Regions from separate parts of the Homo sapiens genome. Here all the other regions are linked to region 4. Evidence: promoter capture Hi-C in human tissues and cell types (Jung and others, 2019). All regions are on one chromosome and are shown on one strand. The core of a region is centred on a gene start or on the middle of the fragment in contact, and the rest is flanking DNA. Distances in the headings are between cores, read along the strand shown. Region 1 overlaps FRMD8 (FERM domain containing 8). Region 2 holds the start of SLC25A45 (solute carrier family 25 member 45). Region 3 holds the start of DPF2 (double PHD fingers 2). Region 4 holds the start of NAALADL1 (N-acetylated alpha-linked acidic dipeptidase like 1). Region 5 overlaps SF1 (splicing factor 1). Region 6 holds the start of MALAT1 (metastasis associated lung adenocarcinoma transcript 1). Region 7 holds the start of SCYL1 (SCY1 like pseudokinase 1).

What was found. The method cuts DNA at HindIII sites, captures the fragments that hold promoters and counts their contacts. A contact is called where the count stands out against the background at its distance.
Region 1: a contact is called between a fragment that was not itself captured here and the fragment with the promoter of NAALADL1 in region 4, in 1 of the 25 tissues and cell types used here (adrenal gland).
Region 2: a contact is called between the fragment with the promoter of SLC25A45 here and the fragment with the promoter of NAALADL1 in region 4, in 2 of the 25 tissues and cell types used here (aorta and bladder).
Region 3: a contact is called between the fragment with the promoter of DPF2 here and the fragment with the promoter of NAALADL1 in region 4, in 3 of the 25 tissues and cell types used here (adrenal gland, heart left ventricle and pancreas).
Region 5: a fragment that was not itself captured here is called in contact with the fragment with the promoter of NAALADL1 in region 4 in 1 of the 25 tissues and cell types used here (hippocampus).
Region 6: a contact is called between a fragment that was not itself captured here and the fragment with the promoter of NAALADL1 in region 4, in 1 of the 25 tissues and cell types used here (heart left ventricle).
Region 7: the fragment with the promoter of SCYL1 here is called in contact with the fragment with the promoter of NAALADL1 in region 4 in 4 of the 25 tissues and cell types used here (aorta, heart left ventricle, heart right ventricle and 1 more).

The regions. Positions count from the first base shown.
Region 1 is chr11:65,410,117-65,413,836 of GRCh38, reverse strand. It overlaps FRMD8 (FERM domain containing 8), which reads right to left. Exons shown (of 11, transcript NM_031904.5): 11 at 312-2,595. The coding sequence ends at 2,477. Among named protein-coding and RNA genes, the nearest start is that of NEAT1, 11 kb to the left of the region's middle. The HindIII fragment of the contact is 9,371 bases long and covers 1-3,720 here.
Region 2 is chr11:65,381,106-65,384,590 of GRCh38, reverse strand. SLC25A45 (solute carrier family 25 member 45) reads left to right here and starts at 1,945. Exons shown (of 7, transcript NM_182556.4): 1 at 1,945-2,105; 2 at 2,622-2,676. The coding sequence starts at 2,640. It also overlaps a transcript of FRMD8 not described here. RefSeq lists a silencer at 519-813 and enhancers at 725-1,251, 1,580-1,779, 1,790-2,099, 1,999-2,293, 1,780-2,307 and 4 more. The HindIII fragment of the contact is 21,887 bases long and covers 1-3,485 here.
Region 3 is chr11:65,332,169-65,335,708 of GRCh38, reverse strand. DPF2 (double PHD fingers 2) reads right to left here and starts at 1,857. Exons shown (of 11, transcript NM_006268.5): 1 at 1,791-1,857. The coding sequence starts at 1,822. RefSeq lists a silencer at 1,416-1,505 and an enhancer at 1,556-1,605. The HindIII fragment of the contact is 14,713 bases long and covers 1-3,540 here.
Region 4 is chr11:65,057,273-65,060,539 of GRCh38, reverse strand. It overlaps NAALADL1 (N-acetylated alpha-linked acidic dipeptidase like 1), which reads left to right and starts at 1,987. Exons shown (of 18, transcript NM_005468.3): 1 at 1,987-2,203; 2 at 2,290-2,462; 3 at 2,544-2,665; 4 at 3,047-3,169. The coding sequence starts at 2,019. The HindIII fragment of the contact is 22,908 bases long and covers 1-3,267 here.
Region 5 is chr11:64,770,152-64,773,909 of GRCh38, reverse strand. It overlaps SF1 (splicing factor 1), which reads left to right. Exons shown (of 13, transcript NM_004630.4): 3 at 405-480; 4 at 3,502-3,654. Among named protein-coding and RNA genes, the nearest start is that of SF1, 6.5 kb to the left of the region's middle. RefSeq lists an enhancer at 1,085-1,174. The HindIII fragment of the contact is 3,620 bases long and covers 692-3,758 here.
Region 6 is chr11:65,498,502-65,502,084 of GRCh38, reverse strand. MALAT1 (metastasis associated lung adenocarcinoma transcript 1) reads right to left here and starts at 3,040. Exons shown (of 1, transcript NR_002819.5): 1 at 1-3,040. It also overlaps TALAM1. RefSeq lists enhancers at 1,517-1,646, 3,150-3,229, 3,280-3,349. The HindIII fragment of the contact is 4,315 bases long and covers 1-3,409 here.
Region 7 is chr11:65,522,775-65,526,332 of GRCh38, reverse strand. SCYL1 (SCY1 like pseudokinase 1) reads right to left here and starts at 1,250. Exons shown (of 18, transcript NM_020680.4): 1 at 1,069-1,250; 2 at 619-759; 3 at 290-412; 4 at 1-209. The coding sequence starts at 1,179. RefSeq lists a silencer at 903-1,402. The HindIII fragment of the contact is 17,278 bases long and covers 1-3,558 here.

The DNA of each region.
Region 1 (3,720 bases), core at 722-3,221, 350 kb before region 4:
CTGTGGGAAACAAACGGCCTCCTGCCAGGCCTGGAGCATGAGGTGCCCTCAGGAAGGGCATGAGCATCTGCAGTTACCCACCTTGGTCCCCACAGGAACCCCAGAGCCCCTCCTGGGCAACGTGGGGCTGGGAGTACAAGCCGCCAAGATGAGACAGCTTCACTCGGGTGCTCCGTGGGCATCAACCTGGCTGGCCTGAGGGCTGCACACCTTGACGTACGTTTCATGAAAACCAAACATGCAGCCTGTAATCAACTCTTGGACTGTCACGGACACACCCTCATTATTTCATATCATGAGCTGCCCCAGAGTTTGTTAGAAACTGATTTTAATAAGTCACATGATACAAAAGAATGAGAACATTCAAAGAATGAGTAAAATACTGCTTTGTCCCAAAGGACAAGCAGAAAATGTTAAGGCACAATGGATGCTCAGAAAACGTAAGAAGCTGAAGGGAAAACACATCATCTGTGTACTCAGACACACACACTCCAACCCATCACACGAACACACCCTCGCCCGCCCATCAGAGAAGAATTCGCCTGGAATCAGCTGGGGGCGGTGGCTCACGCCTATAATCCCAGCACTTTGGGAGGTTGAGGCGGGCAGATCATGAGGTCAGGAGTTCACGACCAGCCTGACCAACATGGTGAAACCCTATCTCTACTAAAAATACAAAAATCAGCGGGGCCTGGTGGCATGCACCTGTAATCCCAGCTACTCAGGAGGCTGAGGCAGGAGAATCGCTTGAGACAGAGGTTGCAGTGAGCCGAGATGCGCCACTGCACTCCTGCCTGGGCAACAGAGCAAGACTCCGTCTCAAAAAAAATAAAAAAATAAAAAAAATAAAATCACCTGGAATCAAAGCAGCAGGGACAGCCTGCGCTGGAGCCGCCAGAACAGGCAGGCGGGCAGCTCCGCAAGACCGAGCAACTCCAGGACGGGAGACGAGAACTGGCAGCTGACATGACCCTGTGACCAGGACATTCCAAAAGACTGGGGGCCCTTCCCAGGCCTCTTCTTTCCGCCTATTATTTTAACAAAGTCCATGCTGCCAGAAGGCAAGCCTACCTCGAAACACCTGGCACATTCACAAGCTACCAAAGGGAGGAGGGTGAACAGGCTCTGATACTTGGAGTAGAGGCCCAAGCTTCCTCTCCCACGGTTTTCCACCGGGAACGAAGACAAAGCCAAGCCCTGTGCAGCCACAGGAAGTCCCAGGAAGCACCTGTGAGACCCGCACACCCACCTCGGAGGGTCCCAGGGCTGGGAAAGCCCTCCTCTCAGGGGCTCTCAGCTCATCTGGGACAAGACAGAGCCCCTGCTCCCCGGAGGGCAAGCTGGGACCAGAGAAGCCAAGCACCCATATCAGTCACCTTTCCAAGTGTCCTCGATAAAGAAGAGAGTGTCCCGTGTGGCCCAGGCTTTCCTGGGCATGCGCCAGCCCCCAGAGGAATCCATGGCGCCACCTGGGAAGGAGCGCACAGCAGAGGTACCCAGGGCACTTCCTGGCGTTGCCCCAGCACAACTCAGATGAACAAAGACCAAACTAAAACCTGAAGACCCAGACACAGGGAGGGGAGGTCAGGTCCGGTCAGTCCCCTAGGGGAGCTGCTTGGGCTCCAGGGAGTGCCCACCAGGGGATTTTCAGTTTTTCACAGACTGTGAGTGTGGGTCTGGAGGCCAGGTGGTCCACAGGATAGCCACCTCCCAGCAGTGACATCACCAAAGGCTATCAGAAAGGCATGCTCTTTCTGGTATCTCGTGCCTGCAAAGGAGACCAGAACGAGGGGCACAGGACCCCAGGTAGGGCCCTGCCTGGCTCCCTCCATTCCTGATTCAACCAGGGAGGTGTGGTGGGGGCCCTCACCGTGTTTCTGTCCCGGTTCAATCCAGGGAGGCCCCTCCTACCCTCCTCAGAGTGGTGGCCCAGCCTGGTATTGGGGGATGGAGCACCAGCAGGAGGAAGGTGGGAAACTGGTCATCCAAGTCCGGGGGGTGGAGCACTAGCAGGAGGAAGACGGAGACTGGTCACCCAAGTCCAGGGAAGAGGCCAAAGGCACACACTGGAGCTTCAGGTCCCAAACCTCAATCCTTGGTCCTCTACCACTGGAGCTGCCACTGGGCACTTCAGAACAGGGACACTGCCCATCTTGAGGTGGGCACAAAGGCATGTTTCTAGGTGAGGGTGGCAGCTGCAGCTTGATCGGATGGTCCTGAGAGAGCAGCAGGGCCCAGCATCCGGGGGAAGGGAGGGCAGGCTGCAGAGGAGCCCTACAGGAGGCCCTGGCCAGCTTTGCACAGCCCGGGCATGGCCCCGGGCCCAAAAGTCACTTCTCCGTGGTCTGAGAAACCTGCTGAGGCAGCCCTCCCCACGTGGTGACCCATGAGACTGTTGCAGCCGGCGCCTGCCCCTCAGGAGGACAGTGCCGGGCCAGGGCCCCCAGTCGCCCTCCTCCTGCCGGGTGCAGCGTCCTCAGCCCTGCTCCAGGCTGTCGCCGGGCTGCACCACGGTGTAGCTCCCCTGGCCCAAGGACAGCTGCCGGCTGAAGAAGGATGTGGTGCGCTTCGGCTTCACTCGCCTGATCCCCTTGCCTGCGAGGGAATGGGAGGGCACACTGAGCAGAGGCGCTGTCCCTGTGTGAGGGGGCTCAGGCCCAGGAAGCCAGGTTCTGGCTCCAGCGCGACGGCTCCTTCCAGAGCCTGGTCAGACTGAGCTCCCCTCATCCGAGCCTCAGCCCCGCTCAGCATGCTACAGTATACCCCAAGCAGCGCTCCCTAACACTGCCGACCTAAGGTCATCACAGACAAGGAGGGTCCTTCATAGCCAAGAGAAGCCTGGGGAGACGTGACAACTAAATGCAGTGTGGGGTCCTGGTGGGATCCTGGCACAGAGGGATGTCTGGAAAACACTATGGAAATCTGACTAAGGTAGGCACTTTGGCTAATAATGGCAATACCGGGTCATTAATTAAAACAAAAGTACCATATTGCTGTAAGATGTTAGTTTTTGGTTTTTTTTGGGTTTGTTTTTTTTTGTTTGTTTTGAGACGGAGTCTCGCTCTGTCGCCCAGGCTGGAGTGCAGTGGCACTATCTCGGCTCACTGCAAGCTCTGCCTCCCAGGTTCACACCATTCTCCTACCTCAGCCTCCTGAGAAGCTGGGACTACAGGCGCCCGCCACGGCGCCCAGCTAATTTTTTGTATTTTTAGTAGAGACGGGGTTTCACCGTGTTAGCCAAGATGGTCTCGATCTCCTGACCTCGTGATCTGCCTGCCTCGGCCTCCCAAAGTGCTGGGATTACAGGCGTGAGCCACTGCGCCCGGCCTTTTGTTTTGTTTTGAGATGGAGTCTTGCTCTGTCACCCAGGCCGCAGTGCAATGGCACGATCTTGGCTCACTGCAACCTCCACCTCCTGGGTTCAAGCAATTCTCCTGCCTCAGCCTCCTGAGTAGCTGGGACTACAGGTGTGCGCCACCACGCACACTAATTTTTGTATTTTTAGTAGAGACGGGGTTTCACCATGCTGGCCAGGATGGTCTCGATCTCTTGACCTCATGATCCACCCATCTTGGCCTCCAAAAGTGCTGGGATTACAGGCGTGGGCCACTGTGCCTGGCTAATTTTTGTATTTTTGGTAGAGACAGGTTTCACCACGTTGGCCAGGCTAGTCTCAAACTCCTGACTTCGTGATCCACCTGCCTTGACCTCCCAAAGTGC
Region 2 (3,485 bases), core at 696-3,195, 320 kb before region 4:
ATTCTCATGCGTCCTGAGAGTGGAAATAAGTATTAGCAGTTGCCATTTACGTGCCAGCCACTTTTTAAAGTGCTTTAATCCTTAGAACTCACTAAGAGGTGAGTATCACATCTCTGTTTTATGTCAAAGACTGACACCTGGGAGTGTCTGCGGTGGTGGTGGGGAGGCTAGAACCCGGGTCTAGTCAAGGAGGGGCACTGGGAGAGAGTCCGGGAGGCTGATGGTGGGGAAGGAAAGGCATTCCAGGTAGTGGGAACTGCACGAGCATGGTTAGGACCCCAGGAAAGACCCCCGCTGTGTGAGAGCATAGCAGGTGGGTGGCACCATGGGGGAGGCCTTGAACCCCAGGATGACAGATATGGGGCAGGCGTGTTAGACAGTAAGAACATTTTGGAGGTTGTGAGCTAGAGATTCACAAGATGACGCCATGCTTAGGTGGGCTTCCCTTCAGCAAGGCTGTAGGGAAGTGGGAATGAGGGTCTTTCTCAAACTGGGGTGAGGCGGTGAGATTGGAAAAGAGAATGAGACCCATTCTGAAGTGAGGGAGGAGGCGGCCTCCAGCCTTTAGAGCTGAGAGGCTTAGACATCAATTAGCCCGACTGCTGTCCTACTTTGGCAAACAATAATAGACCCCAAGGCCCACAGAAGAGGTTGCTCAACATCACTGAGAGAGATAATGTAACCGCCCATTGGGTTCACCTTACCCTCTGCCTAGACAGAGCCAATTTGTCAAGACAGGGGAATTGCAATAAGGAGAGTTTAATTCATGCAGAGCTGGCTGTACGAGAGACAGGAGGGTTTTTTTTTTGTTTGTTTGTTTGTTTTTTTTTTTTGAGACGGAGTCTCGCTCTGTTGCCCAGGCTGGAGTATAGTGGCATGATCTTGGCTCACTGCAACAGCTGCCTCTCGGGTTCAAGCGATTCTCCTGCCTCAGCATCCCAAGTAGCTGGGACTACAGGCGCCCGTCATCACACCCGGCTAATTTTTGTATTTTTGGTAGAGATGGGGTTTCACTATGTTGGTCAGGCTGGTCTCGAACTCCTGACCTCAGGTGGTCCTTCCGCCTCGGCCTCCCAAAGTGCTGGGATTACAGGCGTGAGCCACTGCGCCTGGCCTGTATCAGTTATAGTTTTTGCAAAGGCAGTTTCAGGAATAAGAAGCAGAACCAGGACTGCAGCCCAAGCCACCACGAGAGGCCAGTCTTTGGGGATGGTCTTTTAGGATGATCTTTGGGGGTGGCCCAAGGAGCCCCAGGCAGCTCCAGAGGCAGGAGGTAGGAGGTCCTGTTTCCCGAATCTGTCCACCCGGGAGAAAGCAGCAGGGGTGGGTGGGTTCTGCCTTGGCCACAGTGAGAGGAGAAGGGAGAGAAGGACTGGGCCTTGGGCGTCCCCCATGGGAGACTAGGAGCTGCGGGGAGATCTGGAGGGGAGGGTGCAGGTGTCACTGGGCCTTGATGTTTCCCAGGGCCGTTTGGTGATGGGAAGAGGGAACTGGAGCCCCAGGCTGCCGCTGATGCTGCTGGCTGACATTTCCGTTCATTCAGTCACTCAGGATTTATTGAGAGCCCACCCTGTGCCACCCGCTGTGCACAGAACACCCAGAGATCCCTGTCCAGACAGACAAGTTCTTCCCATCGTATGTTGGCGTGATAACTGTGATGGAGAAAGAGAGGAAGAGCCAGCAGTGCCTCCGGCTGGGGAGGCGGGGCAGACCTCACCCAGGTGGTGACATTTGAGCCCCAGCTGGAGGGGTGCCAGGGCAAGAGTGCCCAGGAAGAGGGAAGAGCCAGTCCACAGGCCTGGAGACAGAAGGCTGACTGAAGAAGAGTCTGGAGGCTCGGGTGGCTGCAGCAGAGAAAGCAAGGGGGTGGGTGGCAGGACGTGAGGTCAGAGGAGAATGGGCGGCACCCTGTGGCTCACAGATCCTTGAAAGGGTTTTGGTTTTGACTGAGCAGAATGGTGCCATTGCAGATCAACACGCACTTTAAATAATCAAAACCCCTATCTTTCCCCTGGGAAGGAGGAAGCCGAGGAAGGCTGTGTTTCTGACTCACACGGGGGAGTCGGGGGAGTCGTAAACAACCCTGAAGAGAACAGCCAGGCCTGGTGAGTCACTCCTGGGAGTGGCTCCTCCCCACCCTGCCACGCAGCGGCAAATGCGGGCTGGGCCTACCCCCTGGTGGCCACGCTACCTCCGCACCCGGCCTCTCTCTGTGGCATGGGGGCGGCCATGCCCCTTGGTGGAGATGAATGGGAGTGGAGCTGGGCTGGCTGGGCAGGCAGGGGCTTGCCTCTTGCTGACTAAGGCAGCCCTGGAGGGGCCCGACCATGGGGCAGGAACCCAGTTGCCATCCTCAGAGCGAGGATCATTGGCCGGGCTCGGGGATCAGGGCCTCTGTGGTCCCGGCACGCCTGGCCCGTGAGACTGTACTCTGCACGACTCCTCCAGGTGGCCAGGGTCACCGGAACTGGCTCGCTCTCCTCTGCCAGTTGCCGGAGGTCTGGGCACCAGGCCAATTCTCACCTTCCCGCCAGGGTTAAACATTAGTGGGAGGTTATCAGCGTGGGCCAGGGGAGGGAGAGGGGGGAATTCAACTCTGTCTCCTCTGCTGGAGCCACCAGTTCCCGCAAGCCCAGACAATGCCGGTGGAGGAATTTGTGGCTGGCTGGATCTCTGGTGAGACATTTTTCTTCCTTCTGTCACATCACACCCAATGGTAGGTCACTTCCTCGGGAAGATGGGTGACATGGGAGGAGCAGAGACCAAAGTCTGAGTTCCGGCCTGGCGGGAGGATCACTTGAGCCCAGGAGTTTGAGACCAGTCTGGGCAACATAGGGAGGCCCCTGTCTCTACAAAAAAATCAAAATAATTAGCTGGGCATGGTGGCTCACACCTGTAGTCCCAGCTACTTAGGAGGATTGCTTGAGCTCAGGAGTTCAAGGCTGCAGTGAGCTATGACTGCACCACTGCACTCCAGCCTGGGTGACAGAATGAGACCCTGCCACAAAAAAAAAAAAAAAAAAAAAAAAAGAATCAGGGCATGGTGGCTCACACCTGTAATCCCAGCACTTTGCGAGGCTGAGGTAGGAGGATCACTTGGGGCCAGGAGTTTGAGACCAGCCTGGGCAACATAGGAAGACCCTGTCTTTATAAGAAATGAGAGGCTGGGCGCGGTGGCTCATGCCTGTAAGCCCAGCACTTTGGGAGGCTGAGGTAGGTGGATCATGAGGTCAAGATTTCGAGACCAGGCTGGCCAACATGGTGAAACCCCGTCTCTACTAAAAATACAAAAATTAGCCAGGCGCGGTGGCGCACGCCTGTGGTCCCAACTACTCCAGAGGCTGAGGTGGAAGGAGCCCTTAAGCTCAGGAGGTTGAAGCTGCAATGAGCCATGATCATGCCACTGCACTCCAGCCTGGACAACACCAGCAAGACCCTGTGTCAAAAAAAAAAAGTCTGGGTTCCGTGGAGCACCCCAGAGCCAG
Region 3 (3,540 bases), core at 608-3,107, 280 kb before region 4:
AACTGGAAGAATAGAAGCCCCTTCTTAAAGGGATAATTCTGTGGGAGTACGTATTAATTGTGATCTGAGGCCCTGTGCAGCTAGAAATGAGGAGGAGAGAGTTGGTTTCTCATTACTGGCATTCAGGAATTAGTGGCTGGTGATGCTCACAATCTCTACAGTTTTTCAAAGAGAAACAAGATGTCACGCTCTGTTTAAATGGGCAACCCCTCACTTATGACACAACTTGAAAGCACTGGCAACCCTATTTCTCTGAGGAAAATCTTCCAACACGAAGAACCTCACTACGTTTAACTCCCAAAACCTAGGCAAGTCTGATACTCCCCCAGTACAATGAGAATCTTCCTTTTTATTTTTGGAGAAACCTGTGTAAAACATCCCCTTACAATGGGATGAGGGAAGTCAACAAAGACGCAGGGAAACAAAGAAAGAACATCTGAGTCAGGAAGGATAACTGGATAAATGGTAGATCAACAGTGTCATTTCTAAATTGAGAAAAATGTCAGCCTGAAGAAAGAGCTGGGGAAACTGGAGTGGGCAGATCAGAGAGAAAGACAATAGCGTTGGGAGGAGGGGTGGCTGAAAGAGACAGCAGGATAGAGCAGAAAGCAACTTAAAAAAAAAAAAAACAAACCACAAGAGGAGGAAAGGCACTTAGCTTAATGGAAGTGGGAAAGCATTCTCAAAGAAAAGGCTTCAGGCAGGAGGGAGAAGCAACTTACTCTTTAAAAAGGCTCTTAGGAAGAGTGGGGCTCAGGCCACGACAAAGACAGATGAGAAGCTGTGAGTCCCTTAGAAGAGTTACCGAACCTTTACCTCGTCATCCAGTCAAAATGCAAAAACCCTGACTGGACAGCTAGACACCACTCAATTTTCCCACCCTTGCACCAAGCCCAACATACCCATTAAAAGAAGCTCTATTCGCCCACCATGCATTAACCCAATCTAAAACTCATTCTGATTCTTCTGTAGGAATAAATCAAGTCCCAAAGCATCTTTAACTCACAGGAAGCAGTTCATAGGCCAGCGTCCATGGCCCCAACAGCTATTAACTTTAACTTTGCTTGAAATCTGACCAGCACAATGGTATCGTATAATAGGAAGAATGCCCACCTAGATGCCCCTTTAGGCTAAGCTGTCCTGAACGGCTTCGGTCCAGTTGCAGGTTTTTGATGGCTGCTACTGGACGGGGCCAAGGCCCACTCCCCTGAAGTTCCTTCCCTTCTGGATCCGCTCCTCGATAAATTCTTCCCAAGAATATTTGTAGTCTTAGGTACCTGCCACCCAAGATCCTCCCAAACATCACGGGGCTGCCTGGAACTGAAACAGCCAGCCCCGCAGTGCACTCCGCAGGGGCCGCCGAGCCTGTTGCTGCAGCGAACGGGACGGGACGGGGCGGGGTGGGCGGCGGGCCAGCCGTAGGGCCGCCCGGGCCTCGGCCCCGCTCCTCCGGACTGAGGCGTCTCGGGAGAGGACCGGGACGGTGAGTCTCGCGTGCAGGCAGGGCGCCATGCTCTGGAAACCGTCAGCCCCGAGGAACGCTGAGGCCACACAGCCCCGCAGGGATGCCGCCCGTCGGGGCTCCAGTGTGCCCCCACCAGGGCCTCCACAAGTTTCCAAAGAAGCGCAACGTCTTCTCCGGAGTCTCCTGTTGCCCTCCCCACCAGGAGTCGCAACATGGCTTTCCCGGGGATGTCCCTCTCTCCGCCTAGTCCCTTCCCCCACCGCCCCCTACTCCCAGGCCCTTTACAAAACCTGCCGCCCTAGGAGAGAAAGAAACGACCACTCACAGCTTCACTACATTCTCCACCACAGCCGCCATCTTCCCTGTTCCTCTGCCTCGGGCCGAGAAGCCCCACAGTCCGCAGCGCGCAGGCGCCGGGACCGCACCGGGGTACCAGGTTCCTTGCCCTCTGCGCAGGCGCCGTCCGGGCGCGCGCACTAGAGCGAGCACTGAAGAAAGAGCTTTACGCCTGTTCGCGGGGGCCGGGTAGGAAATGCGTGGACCCCACGGGAGCCCGACGCGCAGGCGCAACCGGAGATTGGCATGCATCCCGGAGCTCCGGTTCGAGGCTTGCCTCTAATATTTAGAGGAGCAGGAGCCGGGGCCGGGCGCGGTGGCTCACGCCTGTAATCCCAGCACTTTGGGAGGCCGAGGCGGGCGGATCACGAGGTCAGGACATGGAGACCATCCTGGCTAACACGGTGAAACCCCGTCTCTACTAAAAATACAAAAAATTAGCCGGGTGTGGTGGCGAGCGCCTGTAGTCCCAGCTACTCGGGAGGCTGAGGCAGGAGAATGGCGTGAACCCGGGAGGCGGAGTTTGCAGTGAGCCGAGATCGCGCCACTGCACTCCAGCCTGGGCGACAGAGCGAGACTCCTTCTCAATAAATAAATAAATAAATAAAGGAAAAAAAGAAAAAGAAAAAAGATTAGCTGGGCATGGTGGTGCATGCCTGTAATCCCAGCTACTAGGGAGGCTGAGGTGGGAGGATCACTTGAGCCCAGGAGTTTGAGGCTCCAGTGAGCCACTGGAGCCACATCACTGCACTCCAGCCTGGGCAACAGAGCGAGGCTCCATCTCAAGAAAAAAAAAAAAAAAAAGGAAAAAAAATATATATACATATATATATACACATATATATATACACATATATACATATATATATATACACATATATATACATATGTATATATATACATATGTATATATATATATATATATATAAATATAATCACTAAAGCTGAAAATACACATACCCTATGACCCAGCAAAGTCCACTCCTGGATATACACACAAGAAAGCTGTACAAGAAGCTGAGTGCAATGCCTCATGCCTGTAATCCCAGCTACTTGAGAGGGTGAGGTGGGAGAATCACTTGAGCCCAGGGGTTCAAGACCAGCCTGGGCAACATAGCAAGATCCTGTCTCTTAAAAAAAAAAAACAAAAAAAAACAGGCCAGGAGCATTGGTTCACGCTTGTAATACCAGCACTTTGGGAGGCCACGGTGGGCGGATCACGAGGTCAGGAGATCGAGACCGTCCTGGCTAACATGGTGAAACCCCATCTCTACTAAAAATACAAAAACAAAATTAGCCGGGCATGGTGGCGGACGCCTGTAATCCCAGCTACTGGAGAGGCTGAGGTGGGAGAATGGCGTGAACCTGGGAGGCGGAGTTTGCAGTGAGCCAAGATCGCGCCACTGCACTCCAGCCTGGGTGACAGAGCGAGACTCCGTCTCAAAAAAAAAAAAATAAAGCTGTACAAGAATGTTCGTAACAACATTATTTGTTTATATTTATTTATTTATTTATTTTGAGACGGAGTTTTGCTCTTGTCGCTCCTTAACAAATTCTTCCTTCCAGCCCAGGCTAGAGTGCAGTGGCACTATCTCAGCTCACTGCAACCTCCACCTCCTGGGTTCAAGTGATTCTCCTGCCTCAGCTTTCCGAGTAGCTGGGATTACAGGTGCCCCCAGCTAATTTTTGTATTTTTTGTAGAGACAGAGTTTTACCACGTTGGCCAGGTTGGTCTCGAA
Region 4 (3,267 bases), core at 738-3,237:
CTTCCAGGAGTGGGTGGGGTAGGACCATGGGGTTGCTGCCTCAGTCCCTCAACTTATCAGCTGACCTTGGCATCCCACTCCCCACCTGGTGGTGACTGTCCTGTGTCCTCATAAGGAAGGTGTATGCTCCCTGCACCGATGGGCTTCTGATAAGATCCAAGGTCATATTCTGGGCGTCGATAATCACGTTGCCAAGAACTGTGGCTTCCTGGTGCACCTCCCTGAAGTCACTGATCACATGACATCCCTTCCCAGCCACCCCTAGTCCTCCCATGCTGAACCTCCTCACCAGCAGCACAAGAGATGGTGGTGCCAGCAAAATGGGGTTGTGAGCAGGAAGGAGGCTGCTCTGAGAGGGGTCTGTGAAATCACACACACACACATGCACGTGCACACACACACACACACACACACACGCTCTGCCCTGATCCAGCCCCCAAGCTCTGCAGGCATCTTTGAGCCCATCCATGGGCTGCAACCTGCGAGGCAGAGTCAAGGCAGGATAGGCCATGGGAGGGTGGGAGAAGTCCCAGCTCAAGTCCCTAGGGACCCCCCCAGCCCCTCCTGGCTCTCCGTGAGGTCTGGAAGAGGCTCAGTATGTGTATGGCATACTTGGGGTCTCACTTCCCTCTCAGCCCTTGCAAATGCTGGAACACCTTTTCAGCCTTGGAGGACCCCCTCAGATGTTCCCTCCTAGTCAGAACTCCTCACTCTTTCACTGGGAGCATGGTGATCCTCCCTCTACAGGGCACTTACCACATGGCTGAACCTAAAGCCTGTCTGCCTCGCCTGCTGGATTTTGCTTCCCCACAGCCTTGCATGGCTCTAGTATAGCACAGAATGAACAGTGCTTGCATGTATAAAGGAAGGAATGAATAAGTGAATGGAGGGATGGGTGGATGGATAAATAGGAGGGTGGATGACGGAGTCCAGGCAGAGCCAGGGGATAGAAGAGGAAGTCACCTCGCCAGGGAGGCATGGGCTTCCCCTGCTGCCTCCTCTGGGACAGCCTCCCTTCCCAGGACTCCCATTCCTCGTATCGCTGGGCTCCCTTCAGGATAGACACAGAGAGTTCTTCTGGGTCCTCCTTCTTCCTTTAGCTCTAGGCCTTACATTTTCCAGAGTCAGATGAGGGATGAGTAGTTAAAATTGATGAGCTCCCACTACATGTCAGACACTGCACTAGCTATTTCTACAGATGCCATATTGTTTAATGAAAATGACACCATAGCCGGCACGGTGGCTCACTCCTGTCATCCCAGCACTTTGGGAGGCTGAGGCGGGTGATCACCTGAGATCAGGAGTTTGAGACCAGCCTGGCCAACATGGTGAAACCCCATCTCTACTAAAAATACAAAAATTAGCTGGACATGGTGGTGCACACCCGTAATCCCAGCTACTCGGGAGGCCGATGCAGGAGAATCACTTGAGCCCGGGAGGTGGAGGTTGCAGTGAGCCGAGATCACACCACTGGACTCCAGCCTGGGTGTCAGTGGAAGACACAGTCTAGAAAAAAAAAAAAGAAAACAGGTGTAGAGAAGCTGAGTGGATTGCCCAAGGTCACACAGCTTACGTCCAGCAAGAAGGGGGATCTCAACTCAAAATCTGCTCAGGCAGGTAGGGCTGGGTATGCTGTAGATCGGCTGCCTTGGAGGGAGGCAGAGGCAGTGAGGGTGGGCAGTGGGCACGGCCCTGCTGTGAACACAGGAGCTCTGAGTTCCAGCCCTGGCTTGGCCTCTGTTTTCCTGGGACACCCTGGATGAGCCCCTTCCCTCTCGGCTTCAGTGTCCCTGGGTGACCTTGCTGCCCTTGGAGAGCCATTCCAGGCAAATGGTGCAGGATGTGGTGGATGTGGATGGCTCCTGGCTCTCACTGCGGGATGTTCCCTCACTCTCCCTGCCAGCTGGGGGTCAAAGGGCAGTGCCACCCATGGGGTAATGTTTAACCAGGCACAACACCCCCTCTATAGGGAATAACCTATAGACCAGTCCTACCCCAGCTGGCCAAGAGTCCGCAGGATGCAGTGGACGAAGGTGTTGGGGCTGGGGCTGGGGGCTGCTGCCCTCTTGGGGCTGGGGATCATCCTCGGCCACTTTGCCATCCCCAAAAAAGCCAACTCACTGGCCCCCCAGGACCTGGACCTGGAGATCCTGGAGACCGTCATGGGGCAGCTGGATGCCCACAGGATCCGGGAGAACCTCAGGTGAGAAGTGGGGCCATCTGCTCCTCCGTTTGCCAGAGGCCCCCTCCCTGATGCTGGCCCTGCCCCTCCCTCTGCCCACCCTGCAGAGAACTCTCCAGGGAGCCACACCTGGCCTCCAGCCCTCGGGATGAGGACCTGGTGCAGCTGCTGCTGCAGCGCTGGAAGGACCCAGAGTCAGGCCTGGACTCGGCCGAGGCCTCCACGTACGAAGTGCTGCTGTCCTTCCCTAGCCAGGAGCAGCCCAACGTCGTGGACATCGGTGAGGTCCTGCCCAGTCTTGGGAATGCCCGGGGGTGGGGAGCTGCTGGGCCCAGCCATGATACTGCCACCCCTCCAACAGTGGGCCCCACTGGGGGCATCATCCACTCCTGCCACCGGACTGAGGAGAACGTGACCGGGGAGCAAGGGGGGCCAGATGTGGTACAACCCTATGCTGCCTATGCTCCTTCTGGAACCCCACAGGTGGGCCCAGAACCCCCCCTACTGCTCTGGCCCAGCTCCCTTGGTTCCACCCAGGGTTCTCCCCACCCTGACCCAGGGAACGTGCCTCAACTGGGGCACAGCGCGCCCTCCGGAATTTACTCACCGGGACACTCCATCGCTGCTCCTTTCCTCCATCAGTCATTCAACAAACACTAGTGGCTCTGCTCAAGGCCAGGTCTGTTACAGGGCACCCAGACATGGAGGAAATGAGGGGTGACTGTTCTTGGGGAGCTTACAAGCTCTGGGTGAGGTGGGGGAACAGAATCTAAATTCTCCCTCCTGCCATGCAAACTTCCACCCCCCTTCCCCACCCACACTTCGCTGGGCCCAGCTCTAAGGATCACCCCCTCTTGGGACTAGGGCCTCCTCGTCTATGCCAACCGGGGCGCGGAAGAAGACTTTAAGGAGCTACAGACTCAGGGCATCAAACTTGAAGGCACCATTGCCCTGACTCGATATGGGGGTGTAGGGCGTGGGGCCAAGGTGAGTGGCAGTCCCCCAGTGCAGGAGGCCTCGGTGAGGAAGGGGCTGGGCAGTGGACTGGAGGAAGTGAGGGGAAGGGGAAGGAGAAGAGGCAGTGT
Region 5 (3,758 bases), core at 1,252-3,751, 290 kb after region 4:
TTGCCCTCAAGTAATTTGATGGGAGTCGGGTATTGGTGACGTAACATGGTTTATGGTTCTGGGTACCAATGGTAAGCAAGCCTTGGTGGGGAGGAAGAGGTGAAACACCTCCTAATAATTGCTTGGATGTTAGCCTTAGTGAACAGTCTTTATTGCTAACCCCTCTTCCAACAAACTGTTTGCTTCCTTAAGTGATAACCATTTTGAAGTGAAAAAAACCTATAGATGTAAAAGGACTCCTGCCGATAGGTGGTTGGGGGTTTTTGCTTCAATGTGTTCACTGATCAGTCGTCCCTTTCAAAGTCTCCGAGTTCTTCATGCTTGTTGTTGAGATTTGAGATGTTTATTGGTAACATTGTCTTTTTTCCATCCTTTTTTTTCTTTCCTAACCTGGTTTCTTCCAGTGCAACTGCAGATAGAAGACCTGACTCGTAAACTGCGCACAGGAGACCTGGGCATCCCCCCTAACCCTGAGGACAGGTTGGGAAACAGTTTTAACCAGCTGACAGTAACGCTTTTACCTTTTTCTCAATACGTTTTACTGGTGGCAACATATTGTGTCAGTTCAATAAAATCATAGTATGACGACTGTACCCTGACCACTTTGGGGATTAAGGTTTAATTAGAAATATGTATGGTCAGTCAACAGTTAGAAAATTGGAATAAAACTTAAAAATGTTGGGAGAATAAAAAGTTACAGGAAAATGGACAACTGGTTTCCAATTGGTAAGCATGTAGATCTTAACCTGATTTACCCACCCTTAGGGGACAGTGAGGTGGCCCGTTAACCTGCCTTTTCAGTACCTGCTTTGGCCAAAAGCCCAGGGCATAGAGTTTTTCTCACAGGTACACAGTGCAGGGACTAAAAATATTTTTGAGCATCACTGAACTTGAGCAAGCCAGGAGCTCTGGTCAGCTCATTGCTGCAGTCTTCCTGCTCATGGTTTTGAGATGGTTTCAAAATCAGATGAGATTTCTAACCAACTTCTTTCACTGCCAGTTAACTTTCAGCCTTGGCCATTGCCTTGGGGGTGTTGGGAGGGGCCAGAATATTCTCACCTATTTTGGGAAGGCATGCAACCAACCCTAAATTACTTTTTTTTTTTCCTTAAAGGGAGCGTGGGCCTCAAACAGCTGTGGTCATGTCATTTCAGTTTGCAGTTTCTCTCACCTCAGAAAAATAAATTGTGTGGGGGAGATGAACTTTTTTAAACTGGAATTTTATTAGCTGATTGAACAGCTAAAATTGGTCATTTAATTAGAAGGGCAGTAAGTCTCTCCCTCTCACTGAATTTTCTCTTAGTACATACAGAATAGTTGAAAAGACTTTGCTTTAAAAAGTAGTGTTTTTGGTTTTTGTTACCCAGTTAATAGCTTATTAAATCAGGAAGATGATGTAATGGCTTTAGAAGTCACTCACTCATGCATCTTTCTTCCGCCCTTTGCCAGGAAACATTAACTTCCTTGTTTCTCCATATTGACTCTTTAATTTGACTTACTACATTTGCTATATTTTACCTATAGATAGATTTTGGTTGTAGGGTTGTGTTGTGTTTCGTTTCTTTTTGAAGATTTTTTTTTTTTTTAAATTTACATTGTAGGTCATAGACCACAACTGTTTAGTGCCTTTTTGGCCTTTTTCCCTTTAATAATATGTCTACAGGTCACCAGTCAATTCCTCCAAAGGTTGAATTTTTAACAAACCTTCTTTGCTTCCTGGATAACTGGGATTAGAATTTAGTTGATCTAGCCGATGCCTGTTGGAGGTGAAGAAGTCGGGCCAGTCTAACCTCTAGAATACTAGCTTTTGCCTTTCACTTCTGCAATTTGGGAGGAGGTTAAACTGTTGTGAGGCCTTCACATGGCCAATTGGGTGCTGGTAAGACTTGTTTTTGTAACTAGCTAAGAATGCTTAATTCTAGACAGCTGTGGGGTGGGAATTAGAAATGTCAAGCATGTTAGAAATAAAACCAGAGCAGGGTTTTTCCTCCCTTCTATTCAGTTTTGAAAGAGGCCCTAATGCCTGATTGGTTTTGCTTTTGAGCCCAGGTTGGAGGGAAATGCATGGGTTTTCTTAATTAAGATAATTTCTTAAAAAGGTGTTATATCACTTAAGCCACTTTATTGTTATTTTGATGCTGCTTAACTTGCACAGTAAAAACATGTTTAAAACTTTTCTTGTAGACTTAAATGTATAAGATGGTAGTCTAATGAGCTGGGGTATGTTTGCTTTTGTTCACTCTTAATGGATTGTGCTAACAGTTTATACAAATGCTAGAAACGGAGGTGTCATTTAGCCGTCATTAGCCATGAACAAACCTGACCTTTTATTCCATCGTGTGTGTAACGTGGTGTGACATGGTTCCCTTTAGGCTGAAGACAGTGGGAGCAGCCGAGTTCAGTCCTTGCTCTCCAACTAGGCAAGGTTCTCTCAACTAAACCAAGGGTATAGGAGTCTTGATTACTTTCAGTATGTTTTTTTAATAACCTGATCCACATGGTCTCTTCCCTTCTTGCAGCTGCTACTAAATTTTCATTCAGAATATCAAGCTATGGTCCTTTTTGTAATCTTAACTCAAAATTCTAGGAGTGTAACCTCTCTTTTTTATTACCGCAAAATCCAGCTGTGGTAAACTGACCATTTTATCATTACATTTTTTTACTTGTAGCAACAGCATTTTACTCCTTAAAAAAATGAGAGAGAGAAAATCTGCTTTCTGGACTTGTAAACTCTGGTGGAGAATCATAGGTTTTCCCCTTGCTGTTTGCAGGTTCAGACCCTAGACAAGTATGACCAAATCTGCATTTGCAGCCTCTCGCAGAAGCTGCTTTAGCACTTTAACGTTTTTCTCTACCCAGACTCCCCAACCTCGAACAGCCAGAAAACAGGTTGTCTCCTGGGCCTTGGACACAGCCAGCCAGGCCATTGAAGGAAAAGCAAAGACGAAGCGAACCATCTCTCTCCATTGTGGGGGCCAAGTAGCTGCAGTAGCCTTCAGTCCCAGTTGCATTGGGTTAAAGAGCTCATACATACTATGTGTTAGGGGTACAGAAGCTTTTCCTCATAGGGCATGAGCTCTCCAAGAGTTAACCTTTTGCCTAAACTTGGGGTTTCTGTGGTTCATAAAGTTGGGATATGTATTTTTTTTCAAATGGAAGAAAATCCGTATTTGGCAAGAAGACTCCAGGGGATGATACTGTCCTTGCCACTTACAGTCCAAAGATTTTCCCCAAAGAATAGACATTTTTTCCTCTCATCACTTCTAGATGCAAAATCTTTTATTTTTTTCCTTTCTCACACACACCCCAGACCCCTAACGTTAAGCCAGCTTCCATCTCCCCATTCCACACGATCTTGAGTAGCACACGTTATGGTCGGTTCCTCCGAAGAGTGTTGTATTAGGGTCTGAGAGGCAGAGGGGCTGGGAAAGACTTGTTATAGTCCGTGTGGGAATGAGAGAAGTCGGTGCAGAATAGTAAACGGGAGTCTGTTTCCCACAGGTCCCCTTCCCCTGAGCCCATCTACAATAGCGAGGGGAAGCGGCTTAACACCCGAGAGTTCCGCACCCGCAAAAAGCTGGAAGAGGAGCGGCACAACCTCATCACAGAGATGGTTGCACTCAATCCGGATTTCAAGCCACCTGCAGATTACAAGTAAGCGGAGGGGCTCGGTCATCTGGGATGAAGACACATGCAGATCATGGGTGACCTGCTGGGATGGGACAGTATTGGTACTACTCACCTCTTGCCTCAAGTCA
Region 6 (3,583 bases), core at 3-2,502, 440 kb before region 4:
CCCAGTGGCTCATATTTAACTTCCCCCAGCTTCCCAATTCAAACTGGGGGGAAAAAAACTAAATCATTGGGAGTTACTTGCCAACTTGGAAGTTGATATTTCTTTACTTTTTCCATTCTAAGACTTTAAGTTCTCTGGCATGAGTTTATCTGCAATCATAAACTAAACAATTACCTAAACCCACCCCACCAATCCCAACCGTAACAGGCCACTGCCAACTAATTGCCAATATTTGCCCCTCCCCTTTAATAAAACTTTTAAGAAGTCACATTATTGGAAAACTTAACTTCAACATTTGGCCTACTCAAGCTCTTCTGAAGTTCTCCTGAGATGACTGAATATGAACCAAAGCTGCACTGTGCTGTACTTTTCAGCTTCAACTGGGAATACTCTTCCAAGGATAAAAGCAGCTCCAGTCCCTGAAGGTGTTCGTGCCAACAGCACAGCGGTACACTCCTTCTCTAACCCAGTTTGTCAATAGTACTATAGCATCTGTGGAAAATCTTAGAAAAAAACATTTTCTCCCCCACCCTCTCTCTTCCCTGTTAAGACCATCCCAAAATGCTTCAAGTAAAAAATAACAAGTTTAAGGGGTTAAGCACTTTTAAAGTCTGATTAAGGGGGTGGGGGGAAAAAAGAGTAACTACCAGCCATTTCTCCAATGGACATCTCTTCCACAGACCTCAACGTGAGAACTGCTCTAGTTTCTATAAACTGTAAACCTGTGGTGGTCTGATTATCCTGATATTGGATTTTCTTGTTTTCTGTTACACCTTGAGTCATTTGCCTTTAGGATTCTAGACAGACCTAAGGGAAAAAGAACTGAAAACATATTTTGCCCCCACCCCCACAAAAAAAAATACTGAAAACTCCCCCCCGCCTCAGTTACACATCCAAACTCTACATTTACAAAACGAATTCAGGGTGAGGAAGTAAAAACAGGTCATCTATTCACAAAACTGAAATACTTCATTACCCCAACTAAACATACAAACTGCTTACAGATTTGCTGAAATTGTCTCAATTTGGCTATCAAATTCATTTGGTTTTCCTCAAATTCGTGTAAAAAAAAAAAACCCACAAACTTGCCATCTACTATTTCTCCAGGACTTGGCAGTCTGCCCTCAAAAGCTTCAGACAAGATTCATGAGTATAAGCCTGAAAAAGAGAAACCTACAACACCCGGAAATCGGCCTACGTCCCCATATAAATCCCTTTACACCTCAGTACGAAACTCCCCCATTATATTAGAAAATAAATAAAAGGTTACCATAAGTAAGTTCCAGAAAAACAACATATTGCCGACCTCACGGATTTTTACCAACCACTCGCTTTCCCTGTGGCCTTGGCACACTGGCATGCTGGTCTAGGATCCTCTACGCACAACGCCTGCTCGCCTCCTCCGTGTGGTTGCCAAGCCAAGCCGCCTGCTACCTTCATCACCAAATTGCACTCGCTCCTTCCTGGAATCCTTTTTCCTAGCTTCACCACCAAATCGTTAGCGCTCCTTCCTTCTTCCTAGCTTCCTTCACCAAATCGCACTGGCTCCTGGACTCTTTTCCTATCTTCACCACGAACTGCTGCTTGCTCGCTTGCTCCTCAGTCCTAGCTTCATCAAACACTGGTTCCTGGAATCCTGTCTGCTGCTGTCTTCCTAGATTCACTGAATCCACTTCTGTGTAGCACCTGGGTCAGCTGTCAATTAATGCTAGTCCTCAGGATTTAAAAAATAATCTTAACTCAAAGTCCAATGCAAAAACATTAAGTTGGTAATTACTCTTGATCTTGAATTACTTCCGTTACGAAAGTCCTTCACATTTTTCAAACTAAGCTACTATATTTAAGGCCTTCCAAATTCTTCTAACTCTTCCAAAAGCCTTCTGCCTTAGTTTTTTTTAAATTACACCAGTCCTTTTAGTAGCTTTTTGATGTGATTTTTAACCAACTTCCCCTTCTAGCTTCAAGTATTCTTCTAAATTGGTTCTGGTCTACGTAAACACCCTCATCTTCTCAAGCTTTACCTTCTAACTTCTGCACCACCAGAAATTAAATTGATGGGCTTTTAAAATAAATTGGTTACCAATAATTTCCTCATTTTTTCAGTGCTATTTTATCCAATTTTTGGCTTTATATTTTTCTATCTTCTATACTTCTCCAATACTTGTCTTAGCTTGTTTTTCATTTTCTATCTGAAACTCTTGACAATATTTTCATTTTCTATCTTGTTTCTATCTTCCAATTTTCTTCTAAGTTTGTACATTTTGCCCTTAGCTTTTTGTTTCCTAGCTTGTCTTTTTTCTTCTGCTTCCTACTTTTCAGGTTTAAATTTATCTTTTTTCTTCTAAAAGTATGTTTTTATCTTCTAATTTCCCTATCTTCTCTATTCTTTTCTTCGCCTTCCCGTACTTCTGTCTTCCAGTTTTCCACTTCAAACTTCTATCTTCTCCAAATTGTTTCATCCTACCACTCCCAATTAATCTTTCCATTTTCGTCTGCGTTTAGTAAATGCGTTAACTAGGCTTTAAATGACGCAATTCTCCCTGCGTCATGGATTTCAAGGTCTTTTAATCACCTTCGGTTTAATCTCTTTTTAAAAGATCGCCTTCAAATTATTTTAATCACCTACAACTTTTAAACTAAACTTTAAGCTGTTTAAGTCACCTTCATTTTAATCTAAAAGCATTGCCCTTCTATTGGTATTAATTCGGGGCTCTGTAGTCCTTTCTCTCAATTTTCTTTTAAATACATTTTTTACTCCATGAAGAAGCTTCATCTCAACCTCCGTCATGTTTTAGAAACCTTTTATCTTTTCCTTCCTCATGCTACTCTTCTAAGTCTTCATATTTTCTCTTAAAATCTTAAGCTATTAAAATTACGTTAAAAACTTAACGCTAAGCAATATCTTAGTAACCTATTGACTATATTTTTTAAGTAGTTGTATTAATCTCTATCTTTCAAAGAGAAAAAAACTTATCTGCGGTTTCCTCAAGCTCCGCCTGCCCCCTCAGCAGAAGCCCCTGCGCTGGCTGCCTCAATGCCTACCGCACAGCTCGGGCGAGGCGTATTTATAGACGGAGAACAACTCGCATCACCGGAATTCGATCACCTTCCGCCGCCTTTGTGAGGGAGGCAAAAAGTAGTTCTTCGGTTAAAAATAGGTTCTAGTTTTACTTTTCTAGATTTTTCTTAACAGCTTATGGAACTTGAATGCAAACTACACATGCAGAAATACTTAAATTACTAGCGTGTGGAAAGATTTGAGCTGCAAACTTTAGACAAAAGAAACATGGAAATCATATTTTAAACGGGTCATCAAACACCTCACAAAACCCCCGGAACTTTTAAAATACCTCTTAAAGCACTTCTTGTGTTCTCTTGAGGGACAGTAGGTATAGTTTACCACCTTTTGAAGGAAGATTAAAGTGTGATAGTTCAGGGCTTTACTTTCCATTACGCAACTGAGCCCCAGCCTTGCAGGGACGGTTGAGAAGTGGCAAAATGGCGGACTTTCTCCCCCAACTGCTTGCAGTCCTGCGACTTGCTCCCAAGACAGCCACACGTTTTGCTTTTTTGTTCGAGAAAT
Region 7 (3,558 bases), core at 1-2,500, 470 kb before region 4:
CTGCCACTGCTGTCAGCCAACTCCGGGGGGTCATACTGCTCAAGCTCGGGGATCCCCTTGCGGGGAGGTCCCCCACCGTTGCCCTGGGCCGAATACATGTAGTCCAGGCCCCCAAGCTTCCACTCGCCAGCTCGGTCCACGAACACGGCGGCCATGCAGACATTGTTGTGGATGAGGCTGCAGTCGTTGACCAGGAAGCTGAGGGCTTTCTGGGGGCAAAAGGAGCCATCACGCCCCAGCACCTGCAACCCCCCATCCCTGCTCTCATCACCACTGCCCCCCACCTCACCACGATCTGGTGTAGCCCCCAGGAGATCTCCAGCTCCTTCAGGCCACCAGCCTCCACTCTCGCCTTGAGGTATATTCCCAACGGGGTCACAGCCTCTGTCACGACGTGGAGGCATTTTTCTGTCTGGGGAAGGGGACACAGGGTTATCAAGGGCGGAGGGGCAGAGAGGAAGGAGAGATAAGCGACTTGAAGTTGGGAGAGATGGGGAAGAGGAAACCAAATCTGGGGGTGCTGGGGCACATAGGGTGGAAACAGGGCAGGAGGGGAGACAGGAGTGGGTAACCAGGACATCGTGAGGGGCAGAGACGGGCAGGCAAGGCAGCAGGTACCTCCAGTCCATCGATGTAAGCCAGGATGTTGGGGTGCCGTAGAGTTTTGAAGCGCTTGAAGGCAGCTTTGGCCACCTGGGTCTGCTCTTCCGCGCCAGGCTTCACATCATAGACGAAGATGGACACGGGGCTGCCTGTGGCCTAGGGGAGGGCAGCGGGGCCTGAGATGGTCCCAGAGCTGTTGTGTGGCCGGAAGACAAGGGCCCGCAGCCAGGTCTCTCCCCAGGTCAGCCTTAGGGACACTTCGCCGGGCCCACGTGACCCCGGCCCTGTCCGCCTGTCGGTCCCTCGGTCCCTCCGCCCGCCACGTAGGCACTGCCCGCCCCCTCCCCGGCCTGCTACCCCTTGGTTCCGCCGCCACGTCAGGCCGGGCGCAACGCGACGGGGTCGGCGGCGCGGAATAGGCAAGGCCCAGGTCGACCGCGGCCTACGGAGCTCGGCCGCACTCACCTTCTTGCGGCCGCGGTGCAGGGCCCAGGGCCCGGGCAGGCCGCCCTCTGGGGGCTCCGGGATGAGCTCGAACGGAAAGTCCCGGACCGGGTCCCGGGCAAAGAACCACATCGTCCCCACCGCCGCCGCGGGTTCGGGCGCCTTAGCTCCGGGTCCTCCGGCCGCCCGAGCCGGGGCGGGGCGGAGAGGGGGCGGGGCCTGCGTCAGACGGGGGCGGGGCCCGGGGGCCAGGGCGGGGCCTACGTCGGGGCGGAGCAGGACGTGAATTGGGGCGGGGTGGGGCAGAACCTGAGTTGGGGCGGGAAGGGGCGGGGACAAGGGAGGGGCGGGAGAGGGGCGGGGATGGGGGGGCTAGGGAGGGGCGGGGATGGGGGGGCTAGGGAGGGGCGGGGATGGGGGGGCTAGGGAGGGGCGGGGCAGTCCGGGGCGGCGGGCGGTACTAAGATCAGTACTCCGCCGCCGGGTAAGTCACTTAAAACCCTCCAAGCCTGTGAGCCCTTTTATCTAAAGAGGCCTAAATCCTAAAGGATAATAGAGCCTGCCTTCTAGCGTACTGTAAGGATGAGAGCTTAAGAAGGGACAGAGGGATGGGGAAACCGAGGCAAAAAGGGGGAGAGGTAGAAAGACTGACAGGCATGAGAGGGTGCAGTGAGGAGTGAGGCAGAGACCCAGAGAGGGAGACTGGCCCCACGCCAGACACTCTCTCCCACCAGCAAGTGGGTGCCTCCAGGCTCCGGGGAGGAGTCGGTCCTGGTGAAGTGACCATGAGAGAAGCACGAGGAGACGCCCCAGAGAAAGAGCGTGGGTGAGAGGCAGAGAGTGAATCCAAGGTTCCAAGGAGGTCCAGAACCCCGGGGCAGGGGCGGGCACCCAGGGAATGGAGGAAGGAGAGACTGAGGAGGGAAGAAGAAGTGACCCCAGGAAAGGAGGGAGGGAGAAGGAGCAACTGGGCAGGTCTGGAAGAGGCCAAAGGGCTGGGAGGGGACCCTGCTCTCCTGGGCTCAGCTGCCCGGCTCTCAAGCCAACGGATTGCATCTCTCAGTGCCTGTGTAGACAGCCATGGAGTGGTGTTAGCTCAATCAGCACATCACACTGGTGGGGATCCAGCCCCTGAGCTGTGTAGGAGGGGCTGGACAGGCAGTGGTTCTTCTGCTGGTAGGGTCTCAGGACCCAGGCTTGGGGACAGTGCCTCAACCACAGCTATGGAGCACTGGTGAGATTCTGGGACTGGTTATGAAAAGTCTGGTTGGGATGCCTTTGGGAGATAACTCAAGGGCAGAGATGCCACAGTGAGACGGTGCTGGGTTTCAATCACGGTTCAGCCCCTCATTGGATGTGAGAACTCACACAGTTCCCTTTGGGTGCGTTAGGTCCCCCATCTATAAACTGGGGTGAGGGCCAGGCACAGTGGTTCACGCTTGTAATCTCAGCACTTTGGGAGGCCGAGGCTGGAGGATCACCTGAGGTCAGGAGTTCCAGGTCAGCCTGACCAACATGTTTGAAGGGGGCCTGCCCCTCCACACCTGTGGGTATTTCTCGTCAGGTGGAGACAAGAGACTGAGAAAAGAAATAAGACACAAAGTATAGAGAAAGAACAGTGGGCCCAGGGGACCGGCACACTCAGTATACGAGGACCTGCACCGGCGCTGGTCTCTCAGTTCCCTCAGTATTTACTGATTACTATTTTCACTATCTCTGCAAGGGGACTGCGGCAGAACAGGGTGATGGTGGGAAGAAGGTCAGCAGGAAAACATGTGAGTAAAGGAATCTGCATCATAAATAAGTTCAAGGGAAGGTACTGTGCCCGGATGTGCACGTAGGCTGGATTTATGTTTCTCTTTACCCAAACATCTCAGTGTAGCAAAGAGTAACAGAGCAGTATCACCGCTAGCATATCTCACCTCCAGCCATAGGGCAGTTTTCTCCTATCTCAGAATAGAATGACTGGTGGGCTTTACACCAAGACATTCCATTCCCAGGGACATACGGGAAACAGAGGCCTTCCTCTTATCTCAACCGCAAAGAGATCTTCCTCTTTTACTAATTCTCAGCACAGACCCTTTACGGGTGTCGGGCTGGGGGATGGTAAGGTCTTTCCCTTCCCACAAGGCCATATCAGGCTGTCTCAGTCGGGGAGACAATACCCAGGCTTTCTCGGGCAGAGGTCCCTGTGGCTTTGCACAGTGCATCATGTCCCTGGTTAATAGAGAATGGAGAATGGCGATGACTTTTACCAAGCATACTGCTTGCAAACATATAGTTAACAAGGCACATCCTGCACAGCCCTAAATCCCTTAAACCTTGATTCAATACAGCGCATGTTTCTGTGAGCACAGGGTTGGAACTAAAGTTACAGATTAACAGCATCTCAAAGCAGAAGAATTTTTCTTAGTACAGATCAAAACGGAGTTTCTTATGTCTTCTTTTTTTCTGCATAGACACAGTAACAGTCTGATCTCGCTTCCTTTCCCCCACATATGTGTGGGCGGA